Regions from separate parts of the Homo sapiens genome. Here regions 2, 3, 4, 5, 6 and 7 are each linked to region 1. The links are contacts of gene promoters, found by promoter capture Hi-C in blood cells and fetal thymus (Javierre and others, 2016). All regions are on one chromosome and are shown on one strand. The core of a region is centred on a gene start or on the middle of the fragment in contact, and the rest is flanking DNA. Distances in the headings are between cores, read along the strand shown. Region 1 holds the start of MCPH1 (microcephalin 1). Region 2 has its middle 20 kb from the start of DEFB1. Region 3 has its middle 11 kb from the start of DEFB1. Region 4 overlaps XKR5 (XK related 5). Region 5 holds the start of LOC107986909 (a long non-coding RNA gene). Region 6 has its middle 380 kb from the start of MCPH1-DT. Region 7 holds the start of LOC124901872.

Region 1 (3,200 bases), core at 701-3,200:
GACTCTAAGATTTAAAAGGAAATCTGAAGAATCTAGAAGATACAAAATAACCTTGAAAAATAAAGTTGTAGGACATAAACTATCTGATTTCATCACTTATTTATATAGCTACAATAATCAAAACAGCATGGTGCTGGCAGCAAAAAGACAAATAGCTCAATGGAACACAATAGGAAGCCTAAAATGAAACACATACATATGCAACACAGATTTTGATGTAAGCACAAAGGAAATGCAGTAGAGACAAAAATAACTTTTTAATAAATGATGCTGGAACATTTGGATATGTATACATGCAAAAAAATGAACTTTGGTCCCTATCCCATACCGTATACAAAAATTAATTAAAAGCAGATCTTATCCTTTGAGTCCAGTAGGTTGAGGCTGCAGTGAGCTGTGATTACACCACTGCATTCCAGCCTGGGCAACGGAGTGAGAAACTGCCTGGAGAAAAAAAAAAAAAAAAGTAGAACCTAGACCTGATATACAACCTAAAGCAGTAATATTTCTAGAAGAAATCCTAGGAGAAAATATTTGTGATCGTGGAGATGAAGAATCTATCAAATACTAAACTTTTTTTACCACCTTGACCAAAAGTAATTGGTTTATATACTTCATCATATCATTTAATTCAAAATCTACAGAGATCAATGTCACTTTCTCAGTAAAAGTACGTGAGTCTTCAATGATGCCCTGAACTCACACTCCCAAGTAAACCATAACACCATATTTCCAGAGTAGAGTTTATTAGAACAATAACTGGTGATAATGATAAATATTGATCAAAGACTGAGCCTAGGAAGTGGGTTTTTTGAGGCTGCATATACTCAAGGCAATTCTTCAGAACCACAGAGGGCTCATTGGATCCTATTAAAAGCTGAGAGTGAATGAATAAACAGATAAAACAGAGACCTGAGTAGACGGTAGTCGATATTCTTTTACATGTATTCTACCTCTAGATTCCATAGAAAGAACTAAAAGTACATGAATTTCACTACCAACATCTCCATCAGTTACCAGCTGTATCACCTTGGATCAGTCAGGTAACCTCCCGCGAATCTGGTTGCTTCCGGGGCAGGGGATCCGCGGGCTGCAGGTTTGAGCCTGGTTGCCGGCAGGGTGGAGCAGCTGGAGGGCCAAGCCTTTGAGCTCCAGGGGGGGTGGCCGGGACAGTGGGTAGTGCCAGCCGATCGGCGTCCTGGGGATTGCCTGAATGTGAGGTCTGGGTTCACCCCGCGGTGACCTGAGTCCTGGGATGCCCCTACAGGGATTTGCTGCCTCAGGGATCCGAAGTCTCTTTCATTCCCTTACTGGGGATTTGAGGTCTGGAGGTACTCCTGCGGGGGTCTGAGATCTCGGGGTCACCCTGTGGGGGTCTGAAGCCTCGGGGTCCCCGCGTGGGGTCTGAGGTATCAGAGTCCCCTCCGTTGGGTCTGAGGTCTCGGGGTCCCCCATCCCCGGGATCGGAGGTCCGGCTCCCCGGAGCAGGCAGGGCGGTGCGTCTGGCCCTGAACAGTAACGTGGCGCGCCAGCCCCAGGTGGTGTCGGGCTAGGGGGGCATAACGGTGCCGAAAGTCCGCACAAAGCCGTCCGCTGGGGTCCCGCCGCGTCCGCGAGGGAATGACTGTGCCCCCTCCCCTTCCTGATCCTCAGCTCAGGTGAGCCCAGATGAGGCGCCGGGTAGCTTCTAAGTCACTAATGGAAATAGAAGGCTAATTCAGGGGTTAGGGGCCGTCGTCCTCCTTACTCCCAGGAGAAGAGAAAAACCCACGGCCCAGCAGCCAGAGGCGCGGCGAGGCGGAATCGGGCCCCCTCCCCGGGGGCTCAGCTCCCTCCAGCCTCCCGCCTCACCTACAGAGAAATCCCGGAAACGCGGATTCAGCGGAGCGCGGTGACGGCGGCGCGCTCACCCCGCGCATGCCCAGTGCCCGCGCGCGCCGCCAGGCTCGCAAGCACCGCGTAGGCCAGCTGGCCGGATCCCGCCGTCTGTCATGGCGGCCCCCATCCTGAAAGGTGAGGTACTTCCTGCTGCCTGCTCCAGCAGCGGGAGTTTGAGGACCGGCACCCCTCGTCGCGGGCGCACTCGGGGGATCCCGTGGGAGGAGCCCCGCTCGCCCCTCCCTCGCTGCCTGTCTCCCCCAGACCCCCTGCCGCCTCCTTCCTCCCCCGCTGCCTGTCCCACCAAAACCCCCTGCTCCTGCTCTCTCCCCCGCTGCCTGTCCCCCCAAAACCCCCGGCTGCCTGCTTCGTCTCCCGTGCTCCCTGTCCCCCCAAACCCCCGACTGCCTGCTTCCTCCCCCGTACTGCTTGTGCCCCAACCCCCGTGCTGCTAGTTCCCCTCAATCCCCCGCTGCCTGCTCCCTCCCCCATGCTGCCTGTCCCCCAAATCCCGCCTTTCCCCCTACCTGCTTTCACCCCTGCTGCCTTAGTCCCTGGATCTGGGGCTCACTGGCAGGCAGAGTCCTGCCCTCCGGAAGTTGGTGTGGGGCCCTCCTGGGTCTGGTCCTGTTCGACCCCCTCTGAGGCCCACCTGGAGGAGCGGCAGTTGAGTTTCTATGCTAATTGTTCCAATAATAGGAGCCGCCTTTTACTGCGGAGTCTTTGTGTGCCAGGCGCTGTGCTTAGGCTAGTATGGTATTGTCTGATTTTTTTAACCGCTCTATCAACTCTCTTATATCATTTTACAGGCAGAAACTAAGGCATCGGACGTTTAGGTGACTCTCCCTGTGTGTGGCTAGTCAGTGCTGACAGGGCCTTAGACCGGAGCTGCTGTCCTAACCAGTATATGATACCGCACGCAGTCCCACCCTCTGTGCACCTGGAAGAGCCCAGGAGAGGGGAATAGCGGACACGTGTCTTGTAGAGTTTGACCGTGAGAAAAAAGGGGCCTGTATTGTGGGGCCTGGAGTCATAAAACCTCATAGCCAAAAGTAAAGACTAGAGGCTTTATACAAAGTCTGTAATCAGATGTGGCTATTTTTCTAATGTTAGTATTTTGTTAAATTAACCTGGTTTTCTTTTAGCGTTACCCCCAATCATTGACCAACGGCACACCTGGAAAATGCTTTTAAACATCAGGTTTTGAGAAGAGGATATCCACTAGAACAGGGGTCCACTCACTATGCCCCCCAGGCCATATCTAGCCTGCTGCCTGTTTTTGTAAGGGTCTACGAGCTAAGAATGTCTTTTACATTTTTAAG
Region 2 (3,200 bases), core at 260-2,759, 490 kb after region 1:
GGAGAAAACATCCCATGAAATGGCCACACATTTCTTCTGGGATGCCCCCCGTTAGCCGTCTCGGCTGGGGCTTCCTGTCCTGGCATGTTCGCACAGCATGTAAGAGGTCCTGTGGGACACACGCTCTCATATGATCACTGCCTCAGCCTGTGAGACTAGTATAGCAGATCCATCTTCCCCAAGGTCCCATTTTCTGGAGGTGGAAACTGATGTTCAACAGTGTGGACCGACTTGCCTTGTGTCTCCCAGCTACTGGGTCTGTAGATGCTGAGTCTTCTGGCTTCTGTTCCTGTGGTATTTCTGGGAGTCAAGGAAGGATAGGAAGAAAAGGTAAAGGAACAAGTAGGGAGGTGAGGAAAACACACCAGAGAACAGTGTGGAGAAGGAAGAATCCGACTCCTGGGGCTCATGGCCTGGCGTAAGAGCAGGTTGCTTCTGGGGCTGCCACCAGTTTACCCATGTGAAGGCAGACTTTGCTCCTAAGTCCTGGATCTCACTCACTGCAGGGTGGCTTCTGGGCAGCAGAGGCCAATGAGCTGGGCACAGAGACCAGGTCGGAGGCAAGTCTTGGCCCAGATCTTCACAAAATCCTGCCCTAACTCTACCTATGGACTTCAAAATTACAACTGCGTTTAAAAGTGTCCCAAACCAAGCAAGCTTTATTGTTTAACAGTATTGAGAGTAGGGTAATTCAGGATGTAATGGAACAGCTGTCTTATCAGGAAAAAGGGGGTGTACTCTCTCCCCCAATTTCTCCCTCCTACCTCTGTAAACCCTCATTTCCTCCTTACCGCCTACCAACCAGCATAGCTGCTTCCCAGCAAAGCCCGTGGAAGGCCAGGCTGGGTGCTGGATTCTGGGTCCCTACATGCTTAGTAAATCATCATGCACCTGCCATGTGAGCCCTGGCTTAGAGCCAGGCTTTCTCATCAAAGCAAACTGCTTGTGTTGTGTCCATAAGCGGCAAGCACTGCCAGACACTCCCAGCCATCTGGAAGAGCAAGCTGGATGCTCCCAGCAAGGCCCAACCAGAATCTTCACGGGGTGCCTTCGTGGCCTTGGTTCCTCGTTTATTAAGTATGAGTGTGGCCCTCATGAGTTCTAAGGTTTTTACCTTCCTCCTTTGGAATCTACGATCCAGAATGGGATCAGCTCCCTCCAGGAGAGTTTCATGCAGCCTGGAAACCTTCCTCACCTCCTGGCTTGGGTTATGGGACTAGGCTGCACCCTACAGCATGGCAGACCTGCAGACTCAGGAGGCTAAAACCCCGGTTACCCACTGTGAGGAACTGGGTGGTGTTAGGGGAGTTACCTAATGCTCTGTGCCTCAGTTTCCCCATTTGTGAGGTGGTGACAATAACCAGTATCTACTGCAAAATATTGTTGCAAGGATTAAATGTTGTTATGAAATCAGGATAGTGCCTGTCACCCAGCCAGCGATGGTGGGCCTTACTGTTTTTGCTGTTTTTGTAGGCACCTGGAGGCTCACACTCCTTGAAGGTGGGCACTTCATCTCAATCATCTTTGGATTCCTACTCCCTGTACTTGTGTGGGCCACCCTGGGCTCCCAGCAATGTCCCTGAGCTGGGGTCGACTGCCCTTCCACCTATTCTAGGCCTGCTGTGTACCCCTGGTTGAGTATTTATCCCATGCTCAGAGCACTGGAGCTGCTGTGAATCATAGGACTTGTTGGATACCACCCTGGGCTAGGATATCTGTCATTCTCATCATACAACAAACATGTTTATATATCAAATGCAAATACCAGGTGTAGATATTTTCATTTGTGTGATCGTGGAATTTGCTAACATTCATATATTAAACAGTGACTCCACTAGCCAGTGATGCAGTGAAATGAAGGCACTGGATGGAGCAGTTGCGCTGCTGCGTCTTGGAGGGATAGGATAGCAAGTGTGCTGCTGTGGTGAGACCTCCGTTTCCTCCTGGAGATGGCAGCTGAGCTAGGCCTTCACCTGGGATGCCAGGTGTTTTGGTGTCAGGGACTGAGGGAATGCTCTTGGTAGGGGTTGCTCAATGCTTTCAAATTTTCACAGGTTCCCAGGTTTGTCTCTAGACACACAACCAGCAGTTTGGTTTCTGTCATAGAGAGAAAGGACTTGTGAGCCAGTGGTACCCCTGGCTGTACTCTACAGCCATGACTCCAACCCTCCCCGAAACCATCTCCACTGCACCTTCCCGGTGGTCTGCTCAGGACACTGGAGAGATGACAGGCTTTGAACAAAGGCTCAGGTTTCCGGCTTGAAAACAGCCTTGCTGGAAAGCAGCAGCACCCTCACTGGGGCAAGAAACTCCATGGGCCCAATCTTTCCAGTTGTGGCATCACCATCACTCTTGACTTCTGTAAGCTTTTCTTAAGATCTGACCCTCACAAACAGACAAATAAAAGCAAACATTTATTTCTTGTGCCATATACTTTTTTCTGGTAATATACATATATATGTATGTATATGTATATATACACACATATATATGTATATATACACATATATAACATATATCATATATGTGTATATGTACACATACACATACACACACACATATATGATATATATCACATATGTTACATATTATATTACATGTATGTATATATTATATATTATATATTATATATATTATATTATATATTATATATATTATATTATATATTATATATATTATATTATATATTATATATATTATATTATATATTATATATATTATATTATATATTATATATATTATATTATATATTATATATATTATATTATATATATAATATATATTATATTATGTATTATATGTATTATATATGTATATTTAGAATTGGCCAGCTTTTTAGATGATCTCAATTTTGTTGGCAACACCCAAAGCATTGTAATCAGGATCCAGTCAAACATATGCCTTCTTCTCTCCATCAGGCCGAATCAGGGAGTTGACCTTGGCCACATCCATGTCATAGAGCTTCTTCACAGCCTGTTTGATCTGGTGCTTGTTGGCTTTAACATCCACAATAAACAGAAGTGTGTTGTTGTCTTCTGTCTTCTTCACGGCCGACTCAGTGGTCAGCGGCAACTCGATGATAGCATAGTGGTCAAGCTTGTTCTCCAGGAGACGCTCTCCCGAGGATATTTTGGCGCTTGTTCTCCCGGTGGGGGGGAGCTCTCTCGAGGATATCTGGGCTGCTTGTTCTCCAGGGGGAG
Region 3 (3,200 bases), core at 701-3,200, 460 kb after region 1:
GGATGGAGCCCCGCTGGCAACAAGCGTGGATGCTTACTGTGTGCTGAGAGTAAGTGGGGTTCTGTCTGGGGGGCTGCAGAGACAGCAGAAAAAACTATCTTTAGAGTCCCTTACAGGAGACCTGTTTTTGTGACTTGTCTGAAGAAGACCAGTCAGGTCAGACTTGACTAAGCCCAGGAGCAATCATTTCGGCAGTTCCCGCGTGTTTATCAGTGAACCTGGTTTTTAGAAAACAGCAAAACAAAACTGAAACAAAAACAAAATCAGAAACCCAATTAAGCAAGACTCTTTACTTACCTCCGTAGGTGTCTGGTCTCTACAGGTAGAATGAGTCCAGGGAGCTGGGAGGGGGCAGTGATGACACCTCTCTGCATGTCTGGTCTGATGTCAGTTACAATAATCAAACACGGGCCGGGCACAGTGACTCACGCCTGTAATCCCAGCACTTTGGGAGTCCGAGGAGGGTGGATCACAAGGTCAAGAGATCGAGACCATCCTGGCCAACATGGTGAAACCCTGTCTCTACTAAAAATATAAAAATTAGCTGGGCGTGATGACAGACGCATGTGATTTCAGCTGCTTGGGAGGCTGAGGCAGGAGAATTGCTTGAACCTGGGAGAAGGAGGTTGCAGTGAGCCGAGATCATGCCACTGCACTCCAGCCTGGTGACAGAGCAAGACTCCATCTCAAAAAACAAAAACAGAAAAAAACAAAAATAATAATAATCAAACACACAGCAGGACCCCTGGCCAGCTGGGGAGGGGGCCAGTGTGGGTGCGTCTTCCTGGGGCCAGCCTAGGAGAAAGTGCTTTTCCTGGGTGTGTGCCCAGGTCACCTGGCTGTGGGACATGCTTCAAGGAATGGGTCTGCCAGGTCACAGTGTTCCTGGACCAAACTGTGGGTCAGGCTGCTATTTCTTGTGGCCCAATAATGAGAGGCCAATGAACTGGGGAGGAAGAGAGTTTTTATTTCTGTAACCAGTTACAGGAAGAAGGCCTGGAAATGATAACCAGACCAACTCAAAATTACACAGTTTTCCAGAGCTTATATACCTTCTAAACTGTAGGTCTACATGTAAGTGTGCACTCATCGAAAGACATAAGTGATTAACTTCTTTTAATCTATAACTAAGGTCTCCATCCTGAAGACTTTCTTCTGGATCCTCAGTAAATTTACTTAATCTAAATGGGTCTAGGTGGTGGGGTGATTACCCTTATCTTGTCTCCTGATGAATCATAAAGGTTTGGGGAGTTCTGTAGACCCCAACAAACTTGTCTATGGAGGCCTGGGGGGTTTATTCAGACCCCCAGTAAAACTTGTTTAAACTTGAAGGTCCTGTTAAGAATCCCTTCATTATCTTGTCATGCTCCAAGGCCCACGAAAAGCCTAGAGAAAACTTTTGGTGGGCTCGTTGTTACATTCCAGCCTTTGTATAAGGGCACTGGCTCAATTAGCTTTAATGTTTAATGTAGCTGCTCAGTCAGTGCTGGGACAGTTGTAAGGGAGGCCTACATTAGTGAGACCTGGCCCACCACAACAGGGCAGCAAGGGAGGCAGGGGAGAACCAAGTAAGGTGAGGCTGAGATGGGGGGTCAGTCCCCAGCCCCATGGTGGACCTCTGGTCCTCCTGCACCTGGGTGAGCTCCAGCGAGAGCCAGGTGGCTTTCCTCTAGAGAAGAGCCTGTAACCCCTCCTGCTATGGGAGTCTCCTCCTCCTCTTCCAGGTCTTGTGGATGATGACCAGCGGGGTGATCCCCAGTGGGCACCAGTGTATTTGCCTGTCAACAAGGGAACAAGCGAATCAAGTCCCTGTGTGGTTCACGGAGGGGGAAGATCAGGTTTCACTTGTAAAGAATGGCGGGTGCTTGCACTTGGAGACTATGCCAGTGAATGTGGAGGGCTGCACCCTGACTAGGCAGCAACAGGGTCTTTAGTCTGCACACATTTGGTTAAAACATTCTACGCTGTTCATTTTTCAGAAAGGAGTCTTCCTTTAGGTGAATGAGGCACTGTCGGAGTCACTCTGAGTTCTGAGTCACCGTTCAGTCTGGGCTGGTTGGAAGAAATTGGGTTGAATCTCAGCATTCAGGTTTGACATGTTCTGGGCAAGGACTGCTCTAAATGGAAACTTTTCCCTTTCTGTTCCTTAAGGATGTGAAGAACCCAGCAGCCTTTCCTGAGGCTGTGTCTTCTGTGCACAGCATCTACTAAGGCCATTCAAAAACACCCCTCCATGGATCTTAAAGCACCCCCTTTTTCCCTTAGGAGGGGGAGTTCTGCAGCTCCTTAAGCTAAAGCCAGATGGATGCAACTAAGAGAGAAGAGAGAACTCCATGCTGCCCCCTTGGTGAATAGGCTGGGCCCAGCATGGTGCAGTCCTTAAAGAGGACCACGGTGGATGAGATGAAGCCACCAGGGCACTGTGTGTACAGAAACAGCAGGAATCAAAATGCCATATACCCGATGAGTGCAATGATGAAACAAAAAATTTATGTGCCGACTCAGATTGGAGAAGTATACTGGGAAAAACAGGCCAATAGTAGATTTGATTGGAAGAGTAGTATTTTGAGCAATTTTTGTTATAGCACTGTTTTGTATTTTGACTGATTGTGACAAGCGTGTATTTTTCTGCTGATATTTGTGGGTTCTCAGGCTTTCGTGGCATAAAACAACCTTGATCAAAAATGTGAATGGTATAAGAAGTTAGTGAATCAGCTTTCATGCCTGTCCAGAACAGAACAAAGGGGCACCCACATGACAGCTCACTAAATTTCTTTTAAAAACCTGTTGTCTTCCAAGATTTGGGACTAATAATAAAAAAGCCTCAAGTGGCTTTTGTTCATAAATTACCATCAGTCCGTGATCTAACAGAAGAGATAAAGGCAGGGGAATAACTATTTCTCCCAAGGCTTTTTATTATTGTGATTTTAAAAAACTATTATTTTTCAATATTTTGGATAGTTCATGTATTTTCAGAAGAAAGCAGCCATGAACAAGTGTATGTATATTGGGAGTTAACTGGAAATATCCATTTTCATGGAAGTTCTCCTTCTAAACAATGGACAGAATCAGGTCTATCCCCTAAACCAGAGGTTGGAAAACAATGACCTTTGGCCAAATCTGGCTTGCTGCCTGTTCTTTTGAACACAGTTTTATGGAAGCACAGCCACTCCCATTTACTTATGTGTCAGACAAGGATT
Region 4 (3,200 bases), core at 433-2,932, 420 kb after region 1:
TGTGCATGAAGGTATATGTGTGTATATTCATGTATGTGTGCAGTGTGTATCTGTAGTGTGTGCAGTGTGAGTGTGTGTGTGTGCACGCATGTAGTGTGGGTGTATGAACAGGGGATAGGAACATCAGGAGGAAACAGAGCTAATAGAATACTTCCAGCAGTAATTGGTGAAGGGAGTCCTAGGAATGGAAAGTAGGGAGCAGGTGCAGGAAATAGTGGAGTTGGAGATCAGGATTTGATGACTGAACAGGGGAGATGAGGGAAGTTGCAGTGGCTTTGAGGTTTCAGGCCTAAATGACTTGGAAATGGTGGTGCTACCGACGGAAATAAGCCAGGTGAGGAGTGCTGGATTGGCCACGATATGAATTTCTTCAGCAGTGAGGAATGTGAGGATGGGTGGAGCCCCCATAAGGAGAGATCTGGATGACCAGTTGTGGTTGAGGGACTGGAAGTGGCCAGAAGAGACTGTGTGAAGACAGCATAGACCAAGGACAGCACCCTGGGGACTGTTCCCACTAAGGGGCCTGGATACGAAAGGGACACCAGCAAGGGTGGGTGGAAGCCGAGAACCAGGCAGCGGAGAGAGCTGCTGATCTCTGCACTGTGGATTACAGGATGGGGTGGCCCAGGGCCACGGGGACACATCTGCTCACCCAGCCTGGGTGGTCCTCCGAGGCTCTCGGAAAAGGAATCAAGCAACAAGAAAGAAGTCAGAACATGTCCTTGCTTCAGTCTGTTTCCCATGAGCCTATGCCAGGCACCTTTACTGGAAACTTCATCTCATAAGTAGAAAGTGGCACAGACCACCTTCCTTACAACCTGAAGATCCACATAGAACCCATGACCACGAAGCCACTCCCCACCACACCAGCGGGCTCTCAGGCTTCGAGTCTCACCTGGAGGTCAGATTTCGCCACCACCCACCAATTCCTCTCTGGGTCTACCTAGCAGCAGCAATAAGGAGATGACCACAGCCGCCTGCACACGAGCCTGCTGCCCAGCAAACCCACTGGATTCTGCTTCCCTGTCTTGTTCAATTTAAGAACTAGAGGTCACTTCAATTTAGCAACTCCTGAAGCCAAGCTGGATGCATCTCGAAGGTCACCTGCAAAACTCCCTGTAGAGACCCCTAAGGCTCTGACTGGCAGGTGACAAGCTGGACCCTGATGGGTGGCAAACATTTCTATGTCCAGAGCAGAAGATTCGGGGACTCCTCTTTGAAATGGCTTTATTCATGGTGCTGAGATCCCAGGACAGATGTCTAAGAAAAACAACTTTCCTTTTTCATGATTTGGAATCCTGGAGTGAACCCATTTCTTACTGTGTCTTGATTCCTGACATAAACTTAATGTTAAGAAAAACATATGACACTAAAAAATGTAACCATGAGGGCAGGCAGTAGTTTTCTTTTCACTCTCAAATCATTTGTTCCTGACATGGGGTAGTTTCCTCTTCTTGCTCTTCCAGAAAGCTTTGTTTGTTCAACATGCATTTTTCTTGGGCTTTGAGAGGCCCACCTGCTACAGACCACAGGCGAAGTAAGAGAAATGAATCCCAGCTTTTTGGGAGGCCAAGGCAGGAGGATTGCTTGAGCTTGGGAGTTTGAGACCAGCCCTGGCAACATAATGAGACTCCATGTCTACAAAACAAAACAAAACAAAGAGCTGGGATAGTGGTGGGTGCCTGTAGTCCCAGCTACTCAGGAGGCTGAGATGGGAGGATCACTTGAGCCCAGAAGTTCAAGGCTGCAAGTGAGCCATAATTATGCCACTGCACTCCAGCCTGGGTGACAGAGGCAGAAGACTCTCGTGAAAAAAAAGAAAAGGGGGGAAGTGAAATGAAAGATGTCTTTTAGAAACCTAAGATTCAGTGTGGAAAGAAAACATACAAATGCGAAAAGCTTCAAGAGGAAGAAATATAAGTATCAACATGAGTGGCTTGGGTAGTGGTGGAATCAGAGTCACAGGCAGAGAGAATAAGGTGGTCAGGGAATGCTTCCTGGAAGAGGAGGACAGGCAAACTCTGGACAGGTAGATGGTAGGAAGAGCCTAAAGGAGTGTCTGGGGTCAGTGGCACAGGGTACAAGGCACTGAAATGAAGGTCCATGTCTGGGAATAGCGAATATCTGGTGCTTGGTAAGGCGGGGGCCAGGAGAGGCTGAGTTGTGGGGCTACTCTTGTAAGAAACAGAGGACCAGTGGGAAGGTGACTAGCCCGGTTTTCTGAAACGAGCTGTCTCGAACCCATTGCAGAGGGAGAAATTCAGGCTGAGACCCCTGGACAGCCACTAGGGAAGCCGGGGAGGAAGCTGAGGCGGGATGGAGAGCGTGGGGATTTGGTCACTAGGTCCTATGAGATGGTGTCCGACATCTGTCCTCACAGTCGCTGCATCATTCCAGGTCCTTATCAGCACTTGCCTGGATTTCTGGCTGCCTGCATGGACCCCGTCCCTCCCAACTCTGTTGCATTTTATTGTCCCTGGTGCCATCTGTCTACAGGCTCATTTGCCCATATTATTCCTTTGCTCAAACCCTTCCAACAGGTCTCCAATGCCTGAGGATAAAATCCAAACTCCTTAATCCAGTAGAAAAGTTTCTTCATGGTCCAGCCCATTTATCTCCTGCCACATTCCTGCCATCTAGGAAATTCTTACCCTTTAGTCTCAAGAACCTCATCCTAATTTCCCATATACACCACTTCTGGCACGCATCTATGTCTTTGCACCAGCGGCTGCAGCTTGCTGTGTCGGAAACGCCTGTTCCCTCCCTACATTGATGGAAATCGCAACAGCCTTCAAGCCTCACTCGAGGGATCCTGAGGCAGGACTGGGCCCTCCAGGGCTAGGGCTATATTTTATATACTTTTAAATATTAAATCTCCACCCATTTATGCTGAACCTGTCTTACATACCTTTAGAGTTTACCTTAACTTTCCTTTTGACAACCTTGAACTTTCACTAAAGAAAAATTGCTAAACCAAGGTGCATGCTAAGGATGAGATAGGCCTTCTTCTGTCATCTCATGCTGCATTTACAAGTGGATTTGTGGGCTTAAAAAGAAAGATGAAAAAGATGTTGGTAACATACAGTATTAAAGTGTAAGTAAAAAACCTAAGTAGAAGAAAGTAATGGTCTTTGTTTAAATAAGTGGTCACCAATGTCAGGTTCTCTTGAACAGAGTCAGACTTAAAATGAACATAGTAT
Region 5 (3,200 bases), core at 299-2,798, 400 kb after region 1:
CGCCGGCCCCTGTCCTTCCTGCGGACCTGTGAGGAGCATCCGGCTATCTGCACTGGCTCAGCCTCGCCCCCGGGCAGGTGGGTCACGGTTGTGTGACCTTGGGCTTCTGTGATAGACATGGCTGTTTCCGCTGTCTCCGGACATCAGTGTACGCTGTGGACAAATGCAGCCGGTCTACGTGAGGTCCGCTCTGCACTAAGGACGGGATGGGCTGAAATGCAAACTCGGGTCCAGACATAGCTGGAAGATGAGTGACCCGCCGCTGGGACTCAGGAAAAGCTACTGTTTTGGTTGTGATCCAATAGATAATATTTAGGCTACCAAACATCTATAAAACTACCACTAATATGATGAAGAAAAGAGCAGTCCCGGAACTCTGGGACCTGGTCCGATGCTTAAGGCCGGCCCTGGTGTTCTCCTGTTGGCCACAAAGCTTCTCACAGGACACCTCTGTGAGAAGCCTCTGACGTGGCCACTGGAGACCGTGACACAGCAAGACCAAAGGTCACCATGCAACCACAAAACACCAGGCTCCCCCTTTCCCACTAAGTGAGTGATGACTGCTTCTTTACCCATGGCAGCTTTATGCTTGCTCGACTCCCTCCCTACAGATGCAACTGACTGCAATACCGGGTCACAGCATTGCCCCCAAACCTGAGTAGACCCGGCTTCCCTAGACTCACCCAGATTCACCCAGCAAAGCCCAAATCCTGTAACTCCTTTCCAATCTCCTTTCACTGAGCGGCCCCGCAGTCCCCCACGGTGTGCGTGCTTCTTTGCCGAGAAGAGTCATAAACCCAACTGGTTCAGTTACAGGGGGTTCCTGGTGGTCTTTGTCTGAAGGGCATTAGCACAGCTGTCTCCAGATGTCATGGTCGTGCTCTATGGGCCCAGCCATAAAGATCCAGATGGGGGCTAGTGAGGTCCAAAGCACCATCCAGTCCCTTCTCCCCAAGACAGCAGTCAGTATTCAGTCCTGGGAGCTGGTGACAAGGAGAAGGCCCTTCTTCCATCCCCACTGAGGTCCTCTGTGTCCTTCCACAGGCAGAGGCATGAGTTCTCCTGGGGTGAAGCGTCATGGATACTCAAGGCTGGTTATTGTGGATAATTGCAAAACCTGACCCATAGAGGCTCCACGAGAGCAGGGAGCCGACATGCTCGTCTTCAGGTCTCCCGATGCACTGGTTTTCATTCTCTGGTTCTTCCTTTCTTCTCAATAGTGAAAGTGGGCTGGGCACAGTGGCTCATGACTGCAATCCCAGCACATTGGGAGGCTGAGGTGGGTGGATCACCTGAGGTCAGGAGTTCGAGACCAGCCTGGCCAAAATGATGAAACGCCATCTCTACCAAAAAACAAACAAACAAACAAAAACAAAAAACAAAAAAAAAATGGAAAATGTCCTGGAACAGACTTGAAGTCTCCAGCTGCTGTGGCTCCTTGCTGCCCATGCGCAGCCACTGAAGCTCCAGGTCAGGACCTGGAAAGTCACTTTCAGCTGCATCTTCTAGTCCTCGAGGTTCCTTCTTAGTCATTTCACGAAGGGGCTCTTCTGGCTTTATGCACTTGTCTGCAGGGACAGCCTTGTCCACCTTTGGGTAACTCTGTCTTAAAGAACCTGTCTGGAGCCCTAAGGAGTTTCTTCATGGCTCATAAGAAACTGCAGGAAGAAAATAGAATCTCTCGCTACAGAACAGTGTCAGGTCCCTGAAGATGACAATCATGTCCTTGTTAAGCTGACCTTCTGTGGGTTCCTGCAGCCGTCTCAGAGGGGACTCCATAAAGCTCTCACCTGCTTCTCCCACTGACGCCGTGAGCACCTGTCACATTTCTTCTGTGTAGCTCTGTGATCCTAATGACTAGCATTTGATAGGTGCTCAGCAGGCATTTTTGAATTAAGTGTCCATTTATTAGTCTTCTCTAATAAATATAGTGTATATTTTCTGATCCTTTTCATCACCGGGCAATATGCTTTCTGGAGGCATGAAGTGAGGAAGCCATCTGAGAAGCCGATGTTGGTCCACAGGGCCTCGAACAGCAAGTACATGCCTTGATTTCTGCATACTCAGTGCCTGTCATACTCAACTAATATTCCTTAAATGAATGAATGAATGAAGAGTATTTCTAGCTTTCCAGGCTATTCAAGGGCTAGAAAGTTTGAAAAGAATGAGCAAATTCCCCATATCCCACCCTTACTTTTACCCCATAACACAAATGCCGTTGATCCAGGATATGCACTCAAGCTGAAATTCATGCCCACAGCCCCGCTCGTTAGTGAATTCATGCTGTTGAATGCTCTAACGCCTACTTTTGCTGGACACTCTGCTGGACCTTGGAGTTAGCCCAGAAGGAGGACTGCAACCCTTAATTAGCCTTCAGGGAGGCAGGGCTTCAAGTTTAGGAAGAGGTCACCAGAGGGCAAAGGGCAGTGGAATACAACCTGGGGACAGAGGGTAGGTCTGGGAGAGCTGGAGCTGGGGAGGGCCCAGGAAGGCACCAAGAGGAGATGTTTGAGTGGAGTCTTGGAGGACAAATGGGGAGGGCTGGTGAGGACTCAGGGAAGTGCTCATGCTCTCACCTGGCTGGGCGAGAGACTGCATGGAGGAAGGACTGAGATGCTGGGATAGCACAGTGAATGGAACTATGAATGATTTTGTTCTATTAACAAGCTTTTTTTTTAGATAGAGTCTTGCTCTGTCGCCCAGGCTGGAGTGCCATGGTACGATCTCAGCTCACTGCAACCTCTGCCTCCCAGTTCAACTGATTCTCGTGCCTCAGCCTCTCGAGCAGCTGGGACTACAGGTGTGTGCCACCACACCAGGATAATTTATGTATTTTTAGTAGTGATGGGGTCTCACTACATTGCCCAGGCTGGTCTCGAACTTCTGGCCTCAAGTGATCTTCCCGCCTCAGCCTCTCAAAGTGCTGGGATTACCGGTGTGAGCCCCTGCATCCGACCCAAAGTCTCGTTATCTTCACCTGTTGTATGGAAAGTTTGTAGCCACTTGTCTGCATCCCCGATTGGCTTATGTGGCTGGCCAGGAGGATGCTGATGGTCTGAGAGCTTATTGCAGAAAGTGTCTGCAGGTGCCCTTAGTATGTGTCAGGCTGAGCTAAGTTATTCTACTATTCCTTTTTAGAGCTCTAATATTGTACCCTAATCCAAAAGTGTTTGGAGAGAATAAAAACTACCCATTCTGGC
Region 6 (3,200 bases), core at 313-2,812, 380 kb before region 1:
CTGCAGTCTTTATTACTTTAATATTGCATCTCTTGACTCAGAACACAAAGCCCTCAATATCTGAGGGTTTACAATAATTCTCAATAGCATTTAACCTGGGCACCAACATAGTAAGTAGTTTCTAGGACACCTTCTGCCTCTGTCTTCCCTCTCTCCTCTCTCTTTCTCTCCCTCTCTCTCTGCCTCTCTCTCTTCCTCATCCTCCTCTGTCTCCCTCATCCTCCTGTCTCTGTCTCATTCTGCACCTTCTCCCGCCCAGTTTGTCCCAGGGGCTCATGCTCCTTAGTACCTGCTGGTTTGGGTTTTCTTGATGGTGTTGTTGCTGCATCCCCTGCCCACAGTCTTTTACTCTTTTCAGGTCTTTTTCTCCACTCCACATCCTTTATCCTACTGTCCTTTGTAAGATGAAGACAAGCTTCCTTTCCAGGTAATGGCAACTCCTCCTGTAGTCCCCAAAGGAGTGTGTTTTTTTCACTCATGCCAAGACCTCTCTGAAGAACTTGAAAAGTCTGCAGAGCATCCTGGAAGGGGCCTTCAAATGCACTTGCTGCAAATGGTCAACCTGTTCCCTGATTATTTTTCCCTATCTCTTACCAGCAACTGTGGGAGTGGGGACAGGGCTTATATACCAACCCATTTTTAACCTATGAATCTCAGGACCTGTGTTAGTCTGTTCTCACACTGCTAGAAAGACACAGCCGAGACAGTAATTTATAAAGGAAAGAGGTTTAATTGACTCACAGTTCTGCATGACTGGGAGGCTTCAGGAAACTTACAATAATGGAGGAAGGTGAGAGAGAAGCAAAGGCATGTCATACATGGCGCAGGTGAGAGACAGTGAGCAAAGGGAGAAGAGCCCCTCATAAAACTATCAAATCTCATGAGAACTCACTATCACAAGAGCAGCCAGGGGAAAACCAGCCCCACGAGTCAATCACCTCCCACCAGGCCTTGCCCTCAACACATGGGGTGATGGGGATTAAAATTCGAGATGAGATTTGGATGGGGAAAGGGAGCCAAACCATATCAGGACCCAACTATCACTCCAAATCCCTCATCATTCTAAGCCCTGGGGCTCTCTTGCAGATAAGATACCAGGTAGCCCACCCTGATGTCCCAAGAGTCCTGTGGGAGACAAGAATATTAAGACTTAGCTATGACCTCACAACCCTGGAAAGCTGCCAGAGACTGTGCATTCTTTGTGCTCACCATGGCAGCAGGGTATTTACAGCCACTGCTGTGCAAGAGGGCATACTGGAGCTGATTTGGGTTTGTAAATGATGACCAAGTTTGCAGCAAGAAGGCTTTGAGGATGTAATCGATCTAGACAGGTGGATCTCGCAGGAGGCAGAAAAGAGATGAAGCTGACAGAGCGGTCAAAGCATAAAGGGGAGAAGGAACATGGCGCAGAGAAGCAGAAGTGCTTGCAACAGGGGCTCCAAGTGAATCACAATGATATTGATGATTGGGAAAAAATAAGTGAGAGAGACAAAGCGGGACTAGAATGCTGAGCCTGAAAATGTGAAGAAACAGCTATTTATTGGATGAGGTGAGAAAAATAGACAGTAATAATTAATTTTAGAGCAGGAAAGTGACATGATAAAAGTAGTGTTGTAAAAATATTAACACCATACAATCATCTAGAATGCATTCCAAGTGGGAAGACTTTTCAAGAGACCACAAAAATAATCCAAACTTGAAAAGGAGCTCAACTTTAATGGCAAAAGCAAGCATGGAAAGAAGAAAATAAATCCAAGAGAAATTTTTTAAAGAAGAAATTTCCAACTAATTTGTAATGAAATAAGTATAGGGTAAGAGAGATTATCACCTCCTAAGTTTAAGAAACATCCCACAGAACAGTTCTGGATTCATTATACCATTAACGGGAGAAAGTACTATATTCTTGTTTCTTTTGGGTGGCCGAGCACAAGAACAAAACCGTTCCTATAGTTCTTAATGTTGCCTACCGATTTAACATTTCTGGCATTTTCAATATTGCATCAGAAATTCTCTATGTCATATGTTATGTAGAAAAAGAAGTTTATTATTTCTCCAGTTTATCTACAGACAATGAGCCTATTGTATTTATATCTTCACTTCTGTTTTACTTTCAGAGTTTGCACCTGAATATTCAGGACTATTCAGTCAACACAGGCTGGTGGGTGGTAAATGTAATGTCATTTCATGATACATTTGAGAGTAGTATTTTCTCCCTGAAAAATTGAATAAAAGGCATACAAGGACATCCGGCTCTGATTTTAAATTCAAATGATAAACCTGCTGCAATGTGTATATTAAAAAAGAATACACTGTATTCTTCAACTATAGCTTATATGATTTCTCTTTCTTCATTTCACATCATTCTTCCATTTCACATAATCGCAATATCCTTCATATGACAATTCAGTAGAATCTTTCAATTCCAAAGTCAATGGAGATGGTCACATAAAATATCTCTGACTGTCAAAATTGCTCTAAGATTGTTTATGGCTACATTTGCCCCTGGCCAAGCAATCAGTTGAGAATTTGAGCATCAGGATATGTCGCTGCTAAAATGTTTATGGTAATATCTGGATTTGTGCAATTAATCATTATATAACCCTCACTTTGTAACTCTGAGATTCAAAGGAATACGCTAATACCTGAGTCTGATTCCATCCCCAGTCTTGTCCTGGAATACACAGACGGTAACAACAGTAGCGCTGAATCAAAGCTTTATGTAGTGGAAGGCACTGAGCACAGCCATTTCTATGAATTGTCTGATTTAATACTCTAACGACACCATGTTGGGTACTACTTCAATCTTCTCTTTTACAGAACTGAATCATAGAGTTTCAGTAACTTCTCCAGGAATACTTGCTAGCAATCTACACATGATTCACTGATGTAAGTCTTGTGAGTGAGTTGTACACAGAACACTATCGGTGCTCCGAGAAAGACAAAGACAACAGCAATACACAGGAAGACATCCCAGGGTGACGACATATGAGCTGGGTGCTAGCAGACTTTGGATTTCTAGGGAAACACAACAGTAGTCCAAGATCTTGTGTATAAGATCCTTATAAAGAAGAAATATACAAAAGTTTAGTTGCTATGCCCAGGATACTTAGACAACATTCTCATGACTCAAGTACTGAAGTCTCAATACCTTGAACAATCTCTCTTTCTCTCCTCTCTCTCTCTCCCCCTTTCCTTCTCCC
Region 7 (3,200 bases), core at 351-2,850, 380 kb after region 1:
AAAGAGGCTTCGTTGGCTCACAGATCTGCAGGCTCTACAGGAAGTGTGGCGCCAGCATCCGCCTGGCTTCTGGTGAGGCCTCAGGAAGCCTCCAATCATGGCGGAAGGCAAGCGGAGCTGGCGCTTCACATGGTGAGAGAGGGAGTAAGTGCGGGAGGGGTCCCTTTTAAACAGCCAGATGTCGCCTGAACTCAGAGTGACAACTCACTCACTATCACAAAGACGGCATCAAGCCACCCATGAGTGATCTGCCCCGACGACCGAAACACCTCTCCCCAAGCCTCACCTCCAACATTGGGGATCACATTTCAACATGAGGCTTGGAGGGGACACACATCTGTACCATGTCACACTTCCCCAATCTCACAGCCCAGGAATTTGGGTCAGTCCTTCCCATCGATCTATGACTGTCTTTTGCATGACTGGGGGCTTTCTGAGGAGAAAGGGATGTCCCCCCAACAAATGGCTTAGATGGAGCCGACACATGGTGGGGGAATCGGTTTTTGCTCCTCGCAAAAACAGGTATTTCTGCTTTCTCTTTGGGCACCCAAGGAAAGATATTTGCTGCAAACACAAACCAAAAAGACGGTGTCCAAGAGCTGCAGAGAAGGGGCATCACAGCACCCCAAGCCTTTGAGTCCTGTGGTGTTTGGGGATTTCAGAAGCCACAGACATGGAGAAAATGTCCCACATGACTCTCTTTCCAGTCATTCCTTTGCTTTCACAGGATGAGAAATAATGCTCCTGAATGCACATGGCAAGGTCTGAAGAAGGTCTTGGGAAGAAATGTGCTGTGGAATGTTATTAAAACGTGGTTTGAGCCCACGTCTCTATGGATATGCATAGTCCCACATATGAACATGATGCTTAGATCATTATTCTTGGGCTTACTATTAATAGTAAAGTGTGTCCATTTCCAGGTTGATCGAAGCTGGCAGAGGATAGAAGAGCTCTGTGGCCGAGTGAGCTGTTTCTGGAGCCAGATGAGTCTTTGGCAGAGCCTGAGGTCCCCTGCTACTACTGGGTGAGTCTCTCTGAGCCTTGGTTTTCTTATTTGCAAAATGTGAGACGGTAACAGTCCTTTTCCTGTGGCTTGTTGGAAAAATCAAGTGAAAGAGTGTATCATGTCTGGCACATCGTGTGCTAAATAAAGTTTGCAATTATTATCTGAAGACAATAGAACTCACTCAAAGAAGTCCCAGGAAATCAATGTAGATTTTTTTTTAACTTTAAGACCTGGATACATGTGCAGAATGTGCAGGTTTGTTACATAGGTATACATGTGCCATGGCGGTTTGCTGCACCCATCAACCCATCATCTAGGTTTTAAGCCCTGCATGCATTAGGTATTTGTCCCAGTGCTCTCTCTCTCGTTGTCCTCCAACCCTCAAGAGGCCCCAGTGTGTGATGAATCAAAACCACAGTGAGATATCATCTCATGTCAGTCAGAATAGCGATTATTAAAGTCAGGAAACAATAGATGCTGGCGAGGCTGTGGAGAAATAGGAACACTTTTACACTGTTGGTGGGAGTGTAAATTGGTTCAACCATTGTGGAAGTCAATGTGGTGATTCCTCAAGGATCTAGAACCAGAAATACCATTTGACCAGCAATGTCATTATTGGGTATATGCCCAATGTAAATTTTTAACAGGGAGGTTTTTTCGTCGAAAACTATCAACTTTAGGCTAAAAGCAAGAATTGTTTTATTTTTCTTTTTTTGGCTCAGTTTTTCATTAGAAAAGAAACCTCCCCAAATGTAAGGAAGCAAATGAATGAAAGGAAAATTACAACTGTGGGGAGTCATTACATTGGAAGGCCTCTCTTGGGACAGCGTGAAATAGAATTGCTCCATTGCTGCAGCCACGAAACCATTAGAGAATGCCCCTCCCGGGACCGGACAAACTGATGCAGGCTAATTTTCCATGGGTGATGTCTGCATAGCTGCGGGGATGGGTCCTATTGGCCTCTGAGGCCTGTGTTTAAGTGACTGCTGTCTTTCCACTTGGAAAATCCCATTTGAATATGGGAATCACGGCCATGGAATCCTTCACATCTCGTGATGGTCAGGCGCACTTCCTATTTCATTGCCCTGAAGTCCCAGCGGCAAAAGGCATTGACCTGTTGAAAACATGAAGGTCAGTCTGATATAACCAGAGCTTTTCTGAACCCCAGCCACTGGAAAACCTTGCTGGTACGATACCCATCCATTACCATTACTGGTACTACGGCTCCAGGAATGAACAGAATTTAGCCTTTGCATGGGCAACATGGCTCAAAGAGCCCTGGATTCAGGGTCAGAAAACCTGGTTTTAAATCCTGTTTTACAGACTGTGTGATCTGCAGAAAGTTCTTCTTTCTCACCTCCATGCATTTTTATATAAAATGGGGTAATAAAAATATCTAGGGGGTTACAAGTAAGGAAAAAAGGTATATGAAGTTTTGTTGTACAATGCTTATGTATATATGGATGCATAATGTATATATACATACATATATACACATTAAGCATTGTACAACTGATATAAAATATATTATGTCTGTCTCCAGAGGACAACGTAGGTCACTAGCAAGATGGGAGAACGTGATTCGGCCAGTCCAGCTAGCATTCATTTTCTCAAACAGATTTTAAAAACTGCTATTGCCTTCTGAGGCTTTAACTTCTTCATTCTAACAGAGTCTATTATTGTTAGGATGAAATAATTCTTCAATTATTGAACAATGACAAACCATTGCCTCCCACTAATCTACCTTTGTGGAGTTTCATCCATGCAACGAACAATTATTTACCAAACTCTTTTGTTTTTTTTTTTTTTTTTTTTTTTTGAGACGGAGTCTGGCTCTGTCACCCAGGCTGGAGTGCAGTGGCTCGATCTCAGCTCACTGCAAGCTCTGCCTCCTGAGTTCACGCCGTTCTCCTGCCTCAGCCTCCCAAGTAGCTGGGACTACAGGTGCCCGCCACCACACCCGGCTAATTTTTTGTAGTTTTAGTAGCGGTGGGGTTTCACTGTGTTAGCCAGGATGGTCTCGATCTCCTGACCTCGTGATCCGCCCGCCCAGGCCTCCTAAACTGCTGGGATTACAGGCGTGACCACAACTCCCGGCCTTACCAAACTCTTTCTTATGTGTTCCATGCCATGCTAGTTTATTATAAATCAGACACAGCCCCTGCTCTTGAGGGGCTTACTTGTTTAAGTCACT

What was found. The method cuts DNA at HindIII sites, captures the fragments that hold promoters and counts their contacts. A CHiCAGO score of 5 or more calls a contact.
Region 2: a contact is called between a fragment that was not itself captured here and the fragment with the promoter of MCPH1 in region 1, in 4 of 17 cell types (total B cells, fetal thymus, total CD4 T cells and 1 more). The highest score is 9.6, in total B cells.
Region 3: a fragment that was not itself captured here is called in contact with the fragment with the promoter of MCPH1 in region 1 in 6 of 17 cell types (total B cells, fetal thymus, monocytes and 3 more); the score reaches 14.4 in total B cells.
Region 4: a contact is called between a fragment that was not itself captured here and the fragment with the promoter of MCPH1 in region 1, in 14 of 17 cell types (naive B cells, fetal thymus, erythroblasts and 11 more). The highest score is 32.2, in naive B cells.
Region 5: a fragment that was not itself captured here is called in contact with the fragment with the promoter of MCPH1 in region 1 in 17 of 17 cell types (fetal thymus, total B cells, naive B cells and 14 more); the score reaches 35.7 in fetal thymus.
Region 6: a fragment that was not itself captured here is called in contact with the fragment with the promoter of MCPH1 in region 1 in 1 of 17 cell types (erythroblasts); the score reaches 5.3 in erythroblasts.
Region 7: a fragment that was not itself captured here is called in contact with the fragment with the promoter of MCPH1 in region 1 in 17 of 17 cell types (total B cells, fetal thymus, total CD4 T cells and 14 more); the score reaches 74.1 in total B cells.

Annotation. Positions count from the first base shown.
Region 1 is chr8:6,404,677-6,407,876 of GRCh38, forward strand. MCPH1 (microcephalin 1) reads left to right here and starts at 1,951. Exons shown (of 14, transcript NM_024596.5): 1 at 1,951-2,013. The coding sequence starts at 1,992. MCPH1-DT (MCPH1 divergent transcript) reads right to left here and starts at 1,872. Exons shown (of 2, transcript NR_040040.1): 1 at 1,030-1,872; 2 at 1-444. RefSeq lists silencers at 1,693-1,772, 2,033-2,212. The HindIII fragment of the contact is 9,682 bases long and covers 1-3,200 here.
Region 2 is chr8:6,896,043-6,899,242 of GRCh38, forward strand. It overlaps the pseudogene RPL23AP96. Among named protein-coding and RNA genes, the nearest start is that of DEFB1, 20 kb to the left of the region's middle. The HindIII fragment of the contact is 1,709 bases long and covers 656-2,364 here.
Region 3 is chr8:6,865,244-6,868,443 of GRCh38, forward strand. No RefSeq gene overlaps it. Among named protein-coding and RNA genes, the nearest start is that of DEFB1, 11 kb to the right of the region's middle. The HindIII fragment of the contact is 4,410 bases long and covers 1-3,200 here.
Region 4 is chr8:6,826,261-6,829,460 of GRCh38, forward strand. The region is part of intron 2 of XKR5 (XK related 5); the gene reads right to left. Among named protein-coding and RNA genes, the nearest start is that of XKR5, 7.7 kb to the right of the region's middle. The HindIII fragment of the contact is 429 bases long and covers 1,469-1,897 here.
Region 5 is chr8:6,806,632-6,809,831 of GRCh38, forward strand. XKR5 (XK related 5) reads right to left here. Exons shown (of 7, transcript NM_207411.5): 7 at 1,886-3,200. It overlaps LOC107986909 (a long non-coding RNA gene), which reads right to left and starts at 1,271. Exons shown (of 2, transcript XR_001745769.2): 1 at 684-1,271; 2 at 1-153. The HindIII fragment of the contact is 2,234 bases long and covers 432-2,665 here.
Region 6 is chr8:6,020,578-6,023,777 of GRCh38, forward strand. No RefSeq gene overlaps it. Among named protein-coding and RNA genes, the nearest start is that of MCPH1-DT, 380 kb to the right of the region's middle. The HindIII fragment of the contact is 2,298 bases long and covers 414-2,711 here.
Region 7 is chr8:6,780,792-6,783,991 of GRCh38, forward strand. LOC124901872 reads left to right here and starts at 77. Exons shown (of 3, transcript XM_047422507.1): 1 at 77-132; 2 at 921-1,024. The coding sequence starts at 130. The HindIII fragment of the contact is 3,638 bases long and covers 1-3,200 here.